Regions from separate parts of the Homo sapiens genome. Here region 1 is linked to region 2. The links are contacts of gene promoters, found by promoter capture Hi-C in blood cells and fetal thymus (Javierre and others, 2016). All regions are on one chromosome and are shown on one strand. Each heading gives the region's core, a stretch centred on a gene start or on the middle of the fragment in contact. The rest is flanking DNA. Distances are from core to core; before and after follow the strand shown. Region 1 overlaps LOC105373710 (a long non-coding RNA gene). Region 2 holds the start of GPD2 (glycerol-3-phosphate dehydrogenase 2).

Region 1 (4,887 bases), core at 651-3,150, 610 kb before region 2:
CTCAAGAATAAGATTTTCTTTCCATTTGAAACCATATTTGAAATTACATAGTCTAGCATCTCCAGTTTACAAATGAAGACATAAGAGTGAAAGAAGAAAGTTATTAGCCTAGGACAATGTAATGAATGAACCCAGAACCTAGATTCCTGATCTCACAGACCAAAGTTCTTTGCATGCTGCCATGTTGCTGACTGACATTGCCCCTGTCAATACCAAGTTCTCCTAACTCCCTGCCTGTTCTAATACCCAGTCTTGGATTAATAAAATTGATGAATATTGTTGTAGACATACATAGACTGATGCTCTACAAATCCAAGGTCTTTCGCTAGTCAAGACACTTACAGCTGCTTGTAATCTTGTGATATTTTTGAACTATTTCCCTGTAATCAATATCATAGTGTCCTGGGCTTCCAAGTTCCCACAGCTTCATATCTTCTGGCAAATTCACCTAGTTTACTGAGTTCAAAGTCATCCAATGTGAACTCTAACTTTAGCCATCATCTCCATCTCAGAATTTTTGTGTGGACCCTTCTCCCAGCCTGTATGTAACAAAGAAGAGTTTTGCATCATTATCATATCTAGTTCATTCTGTTGCTCATTACGTTTCATCTGTCTTGAAGGAACTTGCTCCCTTAATTTCTAAGACTCACTCCTTCCTTCCAAGCATGTAACATTCTCCAGCTTCACTTATCTCTAGAATTATGTCATTCCACTCACATCTCTTTTTTATTTGACTTCAAAATTCCTCAATAATACAATGGGTTCTCTTCCTCACTGTTCTTTCTCCTCTTCTCTTCTTAACCCATGAAAATGTAGTTACCTAGCTATTCTAGTTCAATAGAAATCTCCTGTTCACCAAATGAAATAGTCCTTACTCTGTTCTCAATATTTGTTTTTCTTAAGCTCTGTTGAGTACCTGCTGCTCAAATCTGTCTGTTGATAAGACATTGATCTTCCTGGCTTTTCTCCTATGTTCTTGGCCACACATTCTTCATTTTCTTCTCATTTATTCTTTCTCCCACTCCTTACGAGTAGCCATTTCACCATCTCTTCTTCCTTATTCCTGTATTTTCTTCCTTGCTGATGTCATTCACTCTTATAGCTTTAGCCATCATCTTCCATGTAGATGACAAAAATAGTCTATCTTTAGCTTTAACCTTCATCTTCAGCCTGGAAATTTCTAGCTACTGCTACATTTTCTTTTGATGTTTACTGACACCTGAAACTTTCGACACACCTACATCTTAACTAACTTATTCTGCTAAACGTTCTCTTGATGTCTCAATTTCTGTCATTGCAACACCATCTTTTGAGGGACCTAGGCTCTATGGACATGCAGGATCATCTTCAGGTATGTGACTTTCCTGAAATAAAGTGCAAAATGTTGTATTCGTATTATTTTTATATAATTTTATCTGAAGAAAAGTTTTAGAAATTTTTATCATCTTTTCAAAGAGTTCAGAGAGCAAAAAAATATCTTAATAGCCACTGCTGGATTTAACATCTATTTTTCTCCTTGTGTGAAAAAAAGAAATGCCTATAGGTAAGCTTATAAATTCAAATTTTTGGATAGCTTTTGCAATCCGTGTGCTTATATTTCTTAGCTATTATATGCCAGAATAAATTATCAGTTGTTTGGTTTTGCTCAGTAAGAGAGGATAAGCAGAACTTTGTCTTCCCAAATAGAAATCACATATCTTGGATTATGACTTACTGTATAAAATTATGATGTTATCTCTAAATTTTAAAAATATATCCATCACTTTGTCTTTGTTGTTAAATACAGGATTTGGCTATCAAAAGAAATTACACTGTTTATGTGTACAGGCAGCCTAGTTTTGTGTTTATCTCAAATCAGGAACTCATGTGTAAAACTAAAAGGTCAATTTGAAATATCTAGCTATTTGACATCAGATGGATAAGGAGGAATTACACTTTCAACCAATTCAACTGTTACAATATTAGGGTAACTATTTTAAGAAAATATATTTGAACCTATGTTTGAATGAACTTGATTGCTCCTTGTATGAAATGACATCAAAAGCGAAATCTATTCTCTTTTTACACACAAATTATGCTCAAATTTGGTAATTTTTTTTCAGTTTGCTTCCTGAGGATTAATGGCATGTAGACATAACTTTGTGATTAGAAAATTAACCACACTGTTGTGTTCCTTGCTTTCCTTTTTATGTGGAGTAATGCTGTTTTGCATTGGTTCTTATATTGTTTATCATTGTATGAAACAAAGCTTACAAATTAGATTTCATCTCCTATAAATTAGTGTATTTATATTTTCCAGGCCAGGGACTGTTAGGTGCCAAGCCACAAAGGAGAACAAGACAGCTCCTGTTCTTAAGGAGCAGAGTCTAACAAATATGTATCCACCTTGAAAAATATTGTTGTATTTATACTAGTATTATTACTGTTATTCATTTTTAATGATTATTATACCTAGTTCTAGCAAAAACACAACATTTTTTACAACAGTACATATTACTCAAAAAAGAAATGATATTCTCTTATATAAACAAGTTTTCTTTATAAAGGTAGAGAAATGTGTCAATTTTCTCCTTGAACTTCTGCCACCTTGTAATCAGGAACTAATTAATTAATTAGCTAATATTTTTAAAGTGCATTGAAAATGAGCTGTATCATAGAAATGCTAAGTATTTTAAAGCCTTGCGTTGCCTCATATATACCAAATAGGCTTTCTTAAAGTTTGTAAAGGACAATTTGAACAAATTACATTTGGTTAAAGGAAAAAGCTAGGCGTATATTGAAGACAGGTGTAGTCAGGAGTAGGAGAAGTTGGAATGGGAAAGTGCAAATGTAATCAAGAGAAGGAAAATGATTCTTTACTTTTATCTCCATTTATCATTATCAGAAAACAAAAGAGATGTATGTCTTATAAAATGCTAAAAATAGAATACAAATTTATCAAAATGAAATAGTACGATAATTGTTCTTATACTTACGAAGTTGTTAATAGAGTTAAGTCAGGACTTCCTATACAGGTGATTATTTTATAATGCTCTTGGAACTTAACTCCAAGGCCAAAACATCCCATTTGGAATATTGAGCTATATCTGCACTGCCTAATCATGGATAACAATCAGCCTCTTCCTTCTCCATGATTTTCATGTCCAAAGACTGTGCCAATGCCTGGGGAGGACAAAGGAAAGAAGAATCATGGCCAGTGCCCCCACACTGATAAATGTGGAAAACCAAGCCACAGCAGTCACGCTTCAATATGAGATTTCAAACCTAGAGAGTTCTCAAATGGGGTAAATTGCTCAAGTACTTTTTTAGACCCAGACTTACTTTTGTGATTTTTAAACATGATCATGTGGAAATTCAACTTTGCTAGAAATTATATTTGTTTCAGTTTAGTGGTGGTGGTGTTGTGCAATCTTTCCACACTTCTCTTTCTTTAAAGCCAATGAGAGAGATGGCCCAGAACATAGAAACAGAAGGCAACCGCAAAACATTGTTATGGTACTATTTTCACTCCTCAGGTATTATTTGCAGCATTTGCAGATCACTGCTGGTGTTCTCTCTTGTGAATATATGAGGAATAGACCTGACCCACAGAGTTAACTTGGCTAAGTGAGGTTCACTTGGCTAACTTGAGTTTGGCCTCAACTTGACATCATCACTGTGGGCTCAGCAAAGTGATTGCTCACAAGTAGACTGTGCAATATGCCCTTTTACCTCCTCCGAGGCCATAAATTATCACCCCAATAGTATACGATCATATCTTTTTCTACGTCACTTAAGGCAGATTAAATGGCGTCATCCAGTCTTTCTTACCTTTACAATTCTCATAAGCCATTTGGCCGATGTAGAAACTGAGATATAGAGAGACTGAATAGTTTCTCCAACCTCCTATATGTAGCAAAAACTTGGAGTTGAACATAGATGTCTAATGCCAGAGCCAGAGTCCTTAACCAATATACCATACTCTCTACCCATAATAATGATAATTACTAACACTTATCTAGAACCAGTGCTTTTCCAGTTAATTAAATTACTTGACTAATTTTATCTTCACAACAACCATATAATGTAGCTATTATTACTATGCCACTTGTATGTATGAAAAAACTGAGATGTAGAGAGGTTGTATAATTAAAGTTTGATCAATAGTAAGTGGCAGAGCAGGGATCTGAATAGGACATACTGACTTTTAGGATTTTATTTCGCATATAAATATCATGTAGAAACGTAGTATGCTTCATGACAAATCTTAGTGAGATACTGGATTTTTTCTCCTTTATATGACCGTAAGAGCTTCATAAGTCCTCATTTGTATGAAAGTTTGTTCCTAACCATTGTTTGGATTAAGACAGTAACATTAAAAAATTATGTATCCCTTAGAAGAGCAATACACTATCATGTAAGCATTTATGAATGCACTAGTACAGATGTTTATCTGATTAGCTAGCTGTCATTGTGCACAGTTAAACTCTAAGTAAAGGAATCTGTTGTAAGTCTTTGATAGAGATGAGTTTTAGAAAAGGTCCAAGTGCTCCCTGAAGAAATCATACCTGATAGGGAGAGAAACTACAGAAGGTCCTGAATAAACAGGATACCACACTGTATCCTGAGAAGAAAATACATCAAATAAGTAGAGAAATGCTCTTTGCCTCAGATTTGAACCTATAAACTAGCTTGACACATACAAACACCAAATATGAAATGACCAAGGAAGTTTGACTTCTTCACAGAAATCTCAGAAACCTCTGCTTGAACTCCACACCAAGCATGCACTCAGCCTGTTATTTCTCTTTCCTCTGTGTTTCTACAATTTAGAGTAGAAATTTGAACTTCAGTTTTCTTGCTGTGGTGCTCCGTGTACTTGGTTTGGGCTCCTCACTTGTTCTACTG
Region 2 (4,771 bases), core at 1,191-3,690:
AAAAGAGGTTAACTATTTTTTTATTTAGCACTTATTACACAATATAATGCTGCACAAGAATACAGAAAATTTCATTTAAGAAGACTAGTGTTCATATATTTGATTTCTAGTCCTCTTTCTGAAGTGTTGTTTCTGCACTTAGGATAGCCCCATGAGTCCAGGTGTTGACAAACAGAAAGAATCAAGTTTTGGAAAACCTAAACAGAAACATCATCACATTCAAAAACTAAAACTGAGAAATTAGATACTGATCTGAAAATTGCTTCCCTTCTCTAATAACCATAGCTACCACTAACTCGCCTCTCCTCTCCCCATCCCAACACACTCAACTAACCGAAAAAAATGTACGGATAATTCATGCACAACATGCAAGAATTCTTTGCCCAAATTTTCAAGCTAACTACATTCTTTGCCCATATTTTCCTACTTGAGTATAAGAAGGAAAAATATAGGATGGAAGCTAGTCTTTTGAAGTCTACTACTTGCCAGGTACATTGCTAGCAATTTTACACACGTCATAGCATTTATTATCCATATTTTGCCAATGAGACAATTGAGGCTGAGTTTTAAAAGATGACCTAAGGCCAAAGTCTTTGGCTCCCCGCTCCACAACTACCCTCAGCTGGAGTTTGTTCCACAGTTCAGTCGCTCATTGAGAAAACATTTATTGAGGGTGTATTACAAGCTAGTCACCCCTCTAGGCATTGGAGGTCACTCATTGAGAAAACATTTATTGAGGGTGTATTACAAGCTAGTCACCACTCCAGGCATTAGAGTTTTGAAAGTATGCAAGACAGAACAAGCCCTGCTACTCTCATAGAACTTACACGCTAGAGATGAAAGAAAACAACCAAACAGGATAAGTTCAGAGTTATAATAGTTTGCCAACATGAGTTATGCACAATAATCATCAAATCTTTTAAAATATCTACAATGAGATTAAATAGTTACAAAAAAAACTAAAGGGGGTGGTAACACTCACTAACAATTGGTAACACTGTGGCCCTTTTGTCAATTCCTGAACCAAGCCATTGCATCTTTGAATGAATCACAAGGGAGAAAGAAGGAAGCAGAGCTCTAATGCTGTTTAGAATTTCTTTATAAAATAAAGTGACTCTATAAGCTATGAGAATGGACAGTTGCAATGAATCCATTGTTGGTTCTCAAACCCAAAACCCCATATTTACCCATTTATTCATTAAAATATTGCTGTATTATTTCACGAGTTGATTTGTAAAAGTCAAGGGAGTGTTGTAATTTGACATAACGCCCCTGTGAGAAACAGAGGGGGGTTTCAACATCCACATCACAAGGTTCCCCAGACTGCACACGGTCTCCATTGGGCAATGGCATCCAGATGTCATGTGGTAGCCAGCAAGAACTGTAGGACTGGGACTAGAGTGGTCAGTAGCTACGAAGAAGTGCCTGGGCCCAGTGTGACAGCTGCCAGCACCGTCCACACGCCAAAAAGAAACTTCACATCTCTTTAAACTTGGAACACATGCAAAATACTAACAGTTTTGTTTTAGCAATAAAGACTCCCTGTCACTTACTAACTTCCTTCCCTCACCTATTTATACAAGTATAAGTTGACTAGCTGCTATTTCTATAGCTGCCTCCTATGATATTTATAATGTGTTGTGTGTGATTTGGGTTGCCCATGTCACTAACACTTTGCAAGAATTTGTGTTTGTAAATTACTCTGGAACTCTTCTGGGAGTGAATATTCCACTGCACAAGGTGGAAGCCAGACTAGAGACCATCTGCTAAGAGCAGCACTTCATTCACCCAGCTACACCTTCCTGCCAAAGCACTCTTTGCAAATCTATTTTTGCTGGTAGAAGTTACTACATAGGGAGTGGAGGCTGTTTTAAGTTATCAGTGTGCACCTTCCATTTCCTCCTAGGACGGTCACACGCCAGCAGCTGAGTTTCTCAAAGAAGCCTCAGCCCTCCTCCAGACTCGTTCTCACTCTTGCTTCGGAAGGGAGCAACAATCCTTATCAGACTAGCCGCATCTACAAGCTAAAAGTTTGCATGAACTTTCAATGGGGTACCAACCCTCGCCCCAAAAGTCCTGCCACTTTACTATTTTACAAATGCCGCCTCCAAAACATAAACAACGAAACCCTAGAGAAGAGCGAATCCATCTTCTGCTGGTGGGAAGAAATTCTAAATCTTTCCCGTTTCCCGCCACCACCTACCGCCAAGACTGGAGTCCCAGAACACTCGCCCGGGTCAGAAAGGGACCACTCCCCCCCTAGAATACTAGAGGCGGGGGAAGGGGTCTCCCAGGAAGCACACACCTGAGATAGATCCTCACGCGCGAGGGGCCAGCGGGCAGGAGCACCCAGTTCCTCCAGCCAGGGTGGAGTCGGCCTCCCCCCAGAATCAGAGCCTCGGCCCGGGTGCTCCCAGCGAGGCGCGCGGGGCTGTCACTCGAGGCGGGCTGGGCGGGTGTAACTCGAGCGCCGGGCGGGCCGCGCCCCCGCCTTCCCTCTTCCCGACTTCCTCCTCCCGCTCCCGCGCCTGCTCCCTCCCGGAGGCCTGACCAGGGCGGCGAGGCCGCCACCTCCTGCCCGGATACCTCGGGCCCAGGCTCCTCCGGCCCAGCGGGGAAACGCGGAAGTGGGGGCGGGAACCGGGGCCGGGGTTGGCGGGGGTGTGGGAGGGAAAAGCCAACAGCGGGCGGCGAGCGAGGTGGTCTCCGTGGCCCAATGAACGTGACTAGACGGGGACGCGGGTCCTGCCGCCGGGTGGGGTCGCGCAGCGCCACACGCAAGGGCCCTCGCCCCTGGCTGCAGTTCCTGCTTTGTGCCTCGGCGATGCCGGACTCCAGACCTCCGCCCCGCCTTGCCAGCGGGCTGGCGGACTGGAAAGCCTGAGCTAGGCCAGGCTGGGGAAGACGGTGGCGGTGTCCGATTTCCTGTGCCCTCGCCCATGCGGGCCGCCCTGGCCATCTGCCTGCGGGAGAGGAGACACTCGTCCGCCGGCACGCTGGCGGGGCTGGCTTACCTGACGACTTCTCGTTGTCCGCCCTGGGATCTGGCTTCTCCTACTCTGTACCTCCCGGCCGGCAGGCTTCCCTAGGCCTACAGACGTGTCCAGGAGGCGGGCGACCCTGCGACCCCGCCGTCAGAGCCCAGAACCCTCGCCCGGCTCCCCCGGCGGGCTCTGGAGGCGCGCCAGGCCTCCTGGCTCCCCGCCTGAATGTCAGCGCAGGGACCCGCAGGGAAGACCAAGCCCAAGCTCCAGGGGGTGGAATGCTGAGCACAGGTTCCCCAGACCCAGCCTCATACAGGTGGGGGGAGGCGGAGAGCCCCGGCAGCTGAACAGCAGGCTTCCCACTTGCAACCCCCCGCCACCCAAAAAAAAAAAACGACCCTGCCCACTGAGCATGCCCAGCTTACTTGTTGGAACTCCTAGGGCTAGACAAGCCCAAGGGGACCTAAGGAAGGCAAAGTTGGGGCTCAAATGGACCCCACTTCTTTAACAGCTTTGCTCCGAAGACCTCTGGGTGCTGTACTAATAACCTTTCTATCGTGGTATTGGAAAATATCCAGGAGATGGACGGAAATGCCTTTCCAAAAGAAGGAAGAAAATTAGTGTGAACCAAAAAGCAGTGGTATTTTTTTAAATAAAGTATTAAGTCACTCATTTAATGTCCTTAAATACCGCAGAATTCCTGTAGTTGACCCAGAGGAATGCATATATTTATTAAATCCCAAACTCAGTAACTTCAGGGAACCATCCATAGTCCACAGAGGAGCAATGATTCTCACCCTTGGACACATTAAAATTGGGGGGAGGGGGCAGGGAGGGGTGGAATGCCAGATTTCCATCCCCAAGTCCAATGAGTCAGTCTGGACGTGGGATCTGCAAGTCCTTGTATTTTAAAACTGGCTCTAAAAGTGTAGTCACTGGAGCCCGCAGCATCAGCATCACCTGAGAACTTGACAGAAACTGTACTCCAGTGACCTGATTCATAGACTCTGGGGCTGGGGCTGAGCTACCCAGATTTAACAAGCCCTTTGGGTAGTTCTGATGCACATTAAAGTTTGAGAACCACGGTTTAAAAGCTCCCCCAGTTGAATCATGAGCAACCAGAAAAAGGAAATTGTAGTTGAGAAAAGAAAAATAGTTCAGAGCATTTGAGCAATGTGAGGTATGCAAAATTTATCAGGCCCAGAGAGACCTTGAATATGGGACATAAGTTGCACCCCCCACACTCATGCTCAGAGGCGATTGTTTAAAGGCATTTTGTTCATGACTGACTACCCAACCATATCTTCATGTTCCTGGAATTTGTGATACGAAGAACAATCTATAGACAATTAATAGTTTGTTTTTTTATGTAAATTATTGGTAAACAATTTAGAAACTGCCTCTTCTTTTCCTTTAAAAACTTCCTTGTGGCCGGGCAGGCGCAGTGGGTCACGCCTGTAATCTCAGCACTTTGGGAGGCTGAGGTGGGCAGATCACGAGGTCAAGAGTTCAAGACCAGCCTAACCAACATGGTGAAACCCTATCTCTACTAAAAATACAAAAATTAGCCGGGCATGGTGGCAAACACCTGTAATCCCAGCTACTCAGGAAGCTGAGGCAGGAGAATCACTTGAACCTGGGAGGCAGAGGTTACAGTGAGCTGAGATGGCACCACTGAACTCCACCCTGGGCAACAGAGTGAGACTCCATCTCAAAAAATAAATAAATAAAAACTTGTGACTGGGCAACATCATGAGACTGGTTATATTAAGTATGCCTCAGTTCTT

What was found. The method cuts DNA at HindIII sites, captures the fragments that hold promoters and counts their contacts. A CHiCAGO score of 5 or more calls a contact.
Region 1: a contact is called between a fragment that was not itself captured here and the fragment with the promoter of GPD2 in region 2, in 1 of 17 cell types (endothelial precursors). The highest score is 7.9, in endothelial precursors.

The regions. Positions count from the first base shown.
Region 1 is chr2:157,045,178-157,050,064 of GRCh38, reverse strand. The region is part of intron 1 of LOC105373710 (a long non-coding RNA gene); the gene reads left to right. LOC105373709 (a long non-coding RNA gene) reads right to left here. Exons shown (of 4, transcript XR_001739755.2): 3 at 2,976-3,162; 4 at 1-1,364. Among named protein-coding and RNA genes, the nearest start is that of GALNT5, 210 kb to the left of the region's middle. The HindIII fragment of the contact is 700 bases long and covers 1,551-2,250 here.
Region 2 is chr2:156,434,048-156,438,818 of GRCh38, reverse strand. GPD2 (glycerol-3-phosphate dehydrogenase 2) reads right to left here and starts at 2,440. Exons shown (of 17, transcript NM_000408.5): 1 at 2,306-2,440. RefSeq lists silencers at 2,319-2,728, 3,169-3,338 and an enhancer at 2,879-2,928. The HindIII fragment of the contact is 5,965 bases long and covers 1-4,771 here.